Linked DNA regions of Homo sapiens: region 1 is linked to region 2. Evidence: promoter capture Hi-C in human tissues and cell types (Jung and others, 2019). All regions are on one chromosome and are shown on one strand. Each heading gives the region's core, a stretch centred on a gene start or on the middle of the fragment in contact. The rest is flanking DNA. Distances are from core to core; before and after follow the strand shown.

Evidence for each region. The method cuts DNA at HindIII sites, captures the fragments that hold promoters and counts their contacts. A contact is called where the count stands out against the background at its distance.
Region 1: a contact is called between a fragment that was not itself captured here and the fragment with the promoter of ST6GALNAC1 in region 2, in 2 of the 25 tissues and cell types used here (dorsolateral prefrontal cortex and stomach).

The regions. Positions count from the first base shown.
Region 1 is chr17:76,113,125-76,117,249 of GRCh38, forward strand. No RefSeq gene overlaps it. Among named protein-coding and RNA genes, the nearest start is that of EXOC7, 11 kb to the left of the region's middle. The HindIII fragment of the contact is 8,353 bases long and covers 1-4,125 here.
Region 2 is chr17:76,641,230-76,645,142 of GRCh38, forward strand. ST6GALNAC1 (ST6 N-acetylgalactosaminide alpha-2,6-sialyltransferase 1) reads right to left here and starts at 2,528. Exons shown (of 9, transcript NM_018414.5): 1 at 2,279-2,528. The coding sequence starts at 2,409. The HindIII fragment of the contact is 5,915 bases long and covers 1-3,898 here.

The DNA of each region.
Region 1 (4,125 bases), core at 570-3,069, 530 kb before region 2:
TTCTGTTTTTGTTTTGTTTTGTTTCTTTTGAGACGGAATCTCACTCTGTCACCCAGGCCGGAGTGCAGTGGCGTGATCTTGGCTCACTGCAACCTCCGCCTCTTGGGTTCATGTAATTCTCTGCCTCAGCCTCCTGAATAGCTGGGATTGCAGGTGCCCACCTCCATGCCTGGCTAATTATTTTAGGGGTAGGTTTTTCCTGTGCTCTTCTCGTGATAGTGAGTAAGTCTCATGAGATCTGATGGTTTCACAAAGGGCAGTTCCCCTGTACACACTTTCCTTGCCTGCCACCATGTAAGATGTGCCTTTTCTCCTCCTTCGCCTTCTTCCATGATTGTGAGGCCTCCCCAGCCACGTGAAACTGAGTCCATTAAACCTCTTTTTCTTTATAAATTACCCAGTCTTGGGTATTTCTTCACAGTGGTATGAAATGGACTAATACACTAAGTGTCCATCAACAAACAAATGGATAAAGAAAATGTGGTTCATATACACCTGGGAGTACTAGTCACCCATAAAAAAGAATGAGACCCTGTCATTTGCAATAACTTGGATGGAGCAGGAGGTCATTGTGTTACGTGAAATAAGCCAGGCACAGAAAGAAAAACTTCATGTGTTCTCACTTATTTGTGGGAGCTAAAACTTAAAAGAATGGAACTCATGGAGATAGAGAGCAGAGGCTGGGAAAAGTAATGGTGGGGAAAGAGGGAGAAGGGGGGCTGGTTAATGTGCACAAAAATATAATTAGCTAGAATGAATAAGACCTAGTATTTGATAGCACAATAGGGTGATTACAGTCAATAATAATTTATTGTACATTAAAAATAACTATGGGCGGCCGGGCGCAGTGGCTCACGCCTATAATCCCAGCACTTTGAGAGGCTGAGGCGGGCGGATCATGAGGTCAGGAGATCGAGACCAGCCTGGCTAACACGGTGAAACCCCATCTCCACTAAAAACACAAAAAATTAGCCAGGCATGGTGGCGGGGCGCCTGTAGTCCCAGCTACTCGGGAGGCTGAGGCAGGAGAATGGCATGAACCCGGGAGGTGGAGCTTGCAGTGAGCCAAGATCGCGCCACTGCACTCCAGCCTGGGCGAAGAGTGAGACTCCGTCTCAAAAAAAAAAAAAAAACTATGGGCCGGGCATGGTGGCTCACACCTGTAATCCCAACACTTTGGGAGGCCGAGGCGGGTAGATCACCTGAAGTCAGGAGTTCGAGACCAGCGTGGCCAACATGGTGAAACCCTGTCTCTACTAAAAATACAAAAATTAGCCAGGCGTGGTGGCGGGCACCTGTAATCCCAGCTACTCGGGAGGCTGAGGCAGGAGAATTGCTTGAACCCAGGAGGCGGAGGTTTCAGTGAGCCGAGATCATTCCACTGCACTCCAGCATGGGTGACACAGCGAGACTCCATATCAAAAAATAAAATAAATAAAAATAACTGAAAGAGTATAATTGGGCCGGGTGCAGTGGCTTACGCCTGTAATCCCAGCACTTTGAAAGGCTGAGGCAGGCGGATCACTTGAGGCTAGGAGTTCGAGACCAGCCTGGCCAACATGGCAAAACCATGTCTCTACTAAAAAATACAAAAATTAGCCAGACATGGTGGCAGGCGCCTGTAGTCCCAGCTACTCGGGAGGCTGAGGCAGGAGAATCGCTTGAACCTGGGAGGCGGAGGTCGCAGTGAGCATCTGAGATGGCACCACTGCACTCCAGCCTGGGCAACAGAGAGAGATGCTGTCTCAAAAAAAAAAAAAAAAAGAAAAGAAAAGAAAAAAAGAGTATAATTGGATTGTTTGTAACACAAAGAAAGGATAAGTGCTTGAGGTGATGGACACTCCATTTACCCTGATGTGATTATGCCTGTATCAAGATATCTCATGTAACCCATAAATATATATACCTACTACGTACCCACAAAAATTAAAAAAAGATTTTTAGAAATAAAAAGTAAACTATGGGCTTTAGTTAATAATAATGTATCAATCAATTTGTCCATCAGTTGTAGTAAATGTACCACACTCATTCAAGTTATTTATTTATTTAGAGACAGGGTCCAGCTCTGTCACCCAGGCTGGAGTTCAGTGGCCCAATCATAGCTCACTGCAACCTCGAGTGTGTGCCATCACACTCAGCTAATTATTTAATTGTTTTGTAGAGATGGGGTCTTGCTATATTGTCCAGGCTGGTCACAAACTCCTGGGCTCAATTAATCATCTCGCCTCAGCCTCCTAAAGCTCTGGGGTTACAGGCATAAGCCACCACTTCCGGCCTTGCTAGTTCTTAATAATAGTGGAAACTGAGGGACAGGGAGCAGGAGGAGATATATGACAACTCTATCCTTTCTGCATGATTTTTTTTTCTGTAAACCTGAAGCTGCTCTAAAACATGTCTGTTGGGCACAATAACTCACACCTGTAATCTCAGAGTTTTGGGAGGCCGAGGTGGGAGGATCATTTGAGGCCAGGAGTTCGAGACCAGCCTGGGCAACATAGCGAGACCCCATCTCTATAAAAAATAAAAAATTAGCCAGGCATGGTAGCATGTGCCTGTAGTCCCAGCTACTCAGGAGAATGAGGCAGGAGGATGGCTTGAGCCCAGGAGTTGGAGGCGGCAGTGAGCTATGACTGTGCCACTGCACTCCAGCTTGGGTGACAGAGCGAAGCCCTATCTCAAAAAAATAAAAAAAAGTCTAAGAAAAAAATTTTTAGGCCAGGTGCGGTGGCTCACGCCTGTAATCCAAGCACTTTGGGAAGCTGAGGCAAGTGGATCACGAGGTCAGGGGTTCGAGACCAGCCTAGCCAGCATGGTGAAACCCTGTCTCTACTAAAAATACAAAAATTAGCTGGGCATGGTGGCCTGCACCTGTAGTCCCAGCTACTCAGGAGGCTGAGGTGGAGAATCGCTTGAACCCGGGAGGTAGGAGGTTGCAGTGAGCTAAAATCATGCCACTGCACTCCAGCCTGGGCGACAGAGTGAGACTCTGTCTCAAAAAAAAAAAAATTTTTTTTTTAAATGACATCTCAGGTTAAAACTGCCTGTTTAATGCACTTTGTCCTTTTTCGTTTGCTTGTTTTTGAGATAGGGTCTAGCTCTGTTGCCCAGGCAGGAGTGCAGTGGGGGATCTTGGCTCACTGCAACCTCTGCCTCCCAGGCTTAAGCCATCCTCCCACCTCACCCTCCCAAGTATCTGGGACTACAGGCATGTGCCACCATGCCCGGCTAATTTTTGTATTTTTTTATAGAGACAGGGTTTCACCATGTTGCCCAGGCTGGTATAGAACTCCTGGGCTCAAAAGATCCTTTCACCTCAGCCTCCCAAATTGCTGGGATTATAGGCGTGAGCCACCATGCCCAGCCCTTTGTCCATTTTATATAATGATGTTCATATTTTCTTACTAAATTTTCAGAATTCTTTATATACTATTTTTTAATTTTTTTTTTTTTGAGACAGAGTCTCGCTCTGTCGCCCAGGCTGGAGTGCAGTGGTGCAATCTTGGCTCACTGCAAGCTCCACCTCCCAGGTTCACGCCATTCTCCTGCCTCAGCCTCCAACTAGTTGGGACTACAGGTGCCTGCCACCACACCTAGCTAATTTTTTCTATTTTTTAGTAGAGATGAGGTTTCACCGTGTTAGCCAGGATGGTCTCGATCTCCTGACCTCATGATCCGCCCGCCTTGGCCTCCCAAAGTGCGGGATTACAGGCGTGAGCCACCATGCCTGGCCTCCTATTTTTAAATTTTATTATTATTATTATTATTTGAGATGGAGTCGTGCTCTTGTCGCCCAGGCTGGAGTGCAGTGGCCTGATCTCAGCTCACTGCAACCTCCACCTCCTGCATTCAAGCTTCTCCTCCCTCAGCCTCCTGAGTAGCTGGGATTACAGGTGCCCACCACCACCCCGGCTAATTTTTGTACTTTTAGTAGAGACGGGGTTTTGCCATGTTGGCCAGGCTGGTCTTGAACTCCTGACCCCAGGTGATCCGCCCATCTCTGCCTCCCAAAGTGCTGGGATTACAGGCGTGAGCCACCGTGCCCGGCCTATTTTATTATTATTATTTCTTGAGGCAGTCTCGCTCTGTTGCCCAGGCTGGAGTGCAGTGGCGTGATCTCGGCTTACT
Region 2 (3,913 bases), core at 1,278-3,777:
GGTAACCTGACGCTTTGTTCGGGGCTCAGTTTTTTTGGATGTTAATGTGACTGGGCCAGTGCACCTTAATAATGATAATAAATCCTCCTCAACCCTTCAGTCTCTCTGATTCCTAAATTATCCCACTGCATTTAGAAGTATTGTAACATATATGATAAAAAGGTTAATATCCCTAATATACAAAAAGCTCCTACAAATATGAAAAAAATAATAAAAAGGAAGAAAAGATATGAACAGGTCATTCATAGAAAAGTACAAATGACTAAGAAAGTTAAGATTCTCAATACATCAGTGATCTGAGAAATGCAAATTAAAAAGAGAAACACTTTCACCTATCTGATGATTAAGACTTCAAAACCCTAATGAAAGCCAGTGTGGTCCTGGGAGGTAAAGTAAACTTGCACCTGTCAGTGTAGCATTCTGAGACAACAATTCAATGGTGTCCACTGACATTTCATGTAAACATATGCATTGTCTTGGCAATTCCACTTCAAGAAATCTACCCGGAAATCACTTACGCAAGTGCTCAAAGGTATGTGAGAAACTTGATAGGGGTTGGTTAAGTAAACAGTACCTACCCTGTGGAATGCTAAGCAACTGTTGAAAGAAGGGAGTGGACCTGTATGTCCCGACATGGAAAGATGTCCATGATATAGTGTGACTTACAAGGTCAACCTGTGGAACAATATGTAGCATGAGATACATATATATGTATATATACGTATATATGAGATATATATATAAGCTCTCTTGTGCATATATATGTAAATCTATATGATATATATGTGTATATATCTATATCTATATATACAATATATCTATATATACATATCTCTCATGCTACATATTGACATATAGTATATCAATATATAGCGTATATATTGTATATATATCTCCATACTATATATAGATATCTATATCTCCATCTATCTATCCATCTATCTGTCCATCTATCTGCCTATCTCTCTATCTCTCTCTCTCTCTATCTGCCTATCTATCTATCTATCTATCTATCATCTATCTATCGGGCTTGTATAGCATAAAGGTAATGAGCACAGGGTATGGCACCAAAATGCCTGGGTTTGAATCTTGGCCCTGCCGCATACTAGCAGGGTGACCTTGGGAGAATCACTTCAGTTCTGTGTATCTCAGTGTCCTAATAATGAGAATTAGTGAGTTAACGTATATCAAGCACTTAGAATAGGGGCTAGCTCATAGTAAATACTATAGCAGTGTTAGCTACATAATAATAGAATTCCGTGTACCCTCAAGTGTCAAGAGTGGTCACCTTGAAGAGTGGATAGAGGTGGAGGTATAATAGGGAGACCCTCACTTCCTGCTTCACCTTTCTGTATTTTTTTTAACTCTATGAGAACCTGCATTACTTTCAACGTTTAGGAACAGTGAAATGAAATTATTGGCTGGGCGCAGTGGCTCACGCCTGTCATCCCAGCGCTTTGGGAGGCCGAGGTGGGTAGATCACTTGAGGTCGGGAGTTCAAGACCAGCCTGGCCAACATGGTGAAAACCTGTCTCTACTAAAAATACAAAAACTTAGCCAGGCCTGGTGGCATGCGCCTGTAGTCCCAGCTACTCAGGAAGCTGAGGCTTGAACCTGGGAGGTGGAGGTTGCAGTGAGCTGAGATCATGCCACTGCACTCCAGCACTCCGGCAGCAGAGTGAGACTCCGTCTCAAAAAAAAAAAAAAAAAAAAGAGGGCCTCTCACTGCTGGAGATGTGTGTATTTTCTAAGAAAAATGGTCTAGAAGGTATTTTTGAAGGATTAACTTGGCGTCCACAATTGAAACTGCATCCCTAAGAGGGAGGCTCTCCATTTTAACTGACAAACTTAGGGTGAGTCCGGGTCTGAAACAAGTGGAACACACAGCATGGCTCTTTCGCTTCAGGACGTAGAGAATGGCATGTAAGAACTAACCCAGTGCTGCTGCCATTACTCACAGTCCCAGAGGGGAAAGCAGTCATGTCTTCTGTCTGCACTCTGCAGACCTAACCCATCAGTTCTCAAACTCCTGTACGTGTCCCACAGTATCTGGACATGTCCATCCCATGCGTCTTGGTTGCCCACTGCCACCCTTTCTGTTCCCTGCAAGTCTTCCCATTAGTCTTTCTTCCCAGTGCTTCTTGAGAACACTCCTGACCCCTGACACTCCCATGTGGACACACAGGTGGCTCAGACTTCCCCAGTCCTCCCTGGGCTATCATTTTTCTGTTTCCTCAAATGAATGAAATATGAGGAGTGGAAAGGACAAGAATCTTACCTGGAAGGCTTTGTTTGAGGCTCCTTAATAAAAGAGGGCAAGGCGAAGAGAAAGAAGACCAGGACAGCCAGAAGCAAGGACCACTGGACGCCTTGGCTCAGGTGCCTGCATCTCCACAGGCAGGACCTCATGGTGGTGGGTCGGGTTCTAGAGGAAGGTTCTGCATGTCCTGGGGCCTTGATGTAGGCAGCTGGGAGTCTCACCGCTCAGGTTTCCTGGCCAGGAAGTGCACACCCTTTGTCTTAACAATGAGCCACTCCGGCAAGTGCTGAGTTTATCAGTCTCTGCCTGGGAAGGGAGGAACCGCCTTCACTGCTGTATGAAGGCTTATAAGCTGGCGTGGCTTAAAGGAAGGGAAACTCCTTGTGTTCAAACATGTTTACCTTCCTTTTTTGTCTTTGAAGCCAATATCTGAAAGTCAAGCTTTATGAGAAATATAACCACATTATATGCAGTCTCATCTTGGTCAGGTTACTTAACCCATCTGCCGCCATATAAATGGAAAAAAGCAGTTATCTTCCTTTTGGGATTATCATGAAGACACCTTGAGGCCACCATGCACAGGGCTTTGTTTGTGGTAGGCACCCAACACACATGTTCAACACTTTAGCTCAACCTTCTCTGTTTCTCTTCTGAAATCATGACCATTACAACAATGACCAGCACGTATGAGGGCTCACTCTGAGCTGGGCAGTGGGGAGTCTTCACAGGCACTCATGGAACCCTCACAGCCACTCTAGGGGCTGGGTACTGTCATCACCTCCATTTGACAGAGGAGGAAATGGCCTCCAAGAACAAGCTGCCAGCCCAAGAGCACATGGTGAGCCACTGGCTTGGGGTCCAGATCCAACTGACCTAGAGATTGCATTCTTTTTTTAAGAAATAGAGATGGGTCTCAGTATGTTGCCCAGGCTGGTCTCAAACTCCTGGACTTAAGTGATCCTCCCACCTCAGCCTCCCAAAGTGCTGGGATTACAGGCATCGGCCACCATGCCCAGCCATGATTGCATTTTTCTTTCTTTTTTTTTTTTGAGACATTCTCACTCGTTGCCAGCCTGGAGTGCAGTGGCGCAATCTTGGCTCACTGCAACCTCCGCCTCCCGGGCTCAAGTGATTCTCCTGCCTCAGCCTCCTGAGTAGCTGGGACTACAGGCACCCAACACCACACCCGGCTAATTTTTGTATTTTTAGTGGAGACGGGGTTTCACCATGCTGGCCAGGATGGTCTCGATCTTCTGACCTCATGATCCACCTGCCTCGGCCTCCCAAAGTGCTAGGATTACAGGTGTGAGCCACCGTGCCTGGCCGATTGCATTCGTATCCACTGCTTAGTAGCACCTACGAGAAATCATTAACTCTACCTTGATCAAAGCAATGCAAAACAAAACCCACATAATTCTTGGGAAAAAAAAGTACACCTCAGAGGAAAAACATCAAGACCATTTGTAGAAAACTTTAAAAATTCAGAGAAGCAGCCCTCCATAAAGTACTGTGAGTTAGTAATTTTATAAAAATATTGTCCAGGGTGTTGAACTGTGGGAGAGGTTTTGGAGCCTGGGCTCACTGTTCACACCTGGCGGTGGGCATTTCTCCTAACGTACAGTTTTCAGTTCTGTACACAAGGCTCTTGGCCTT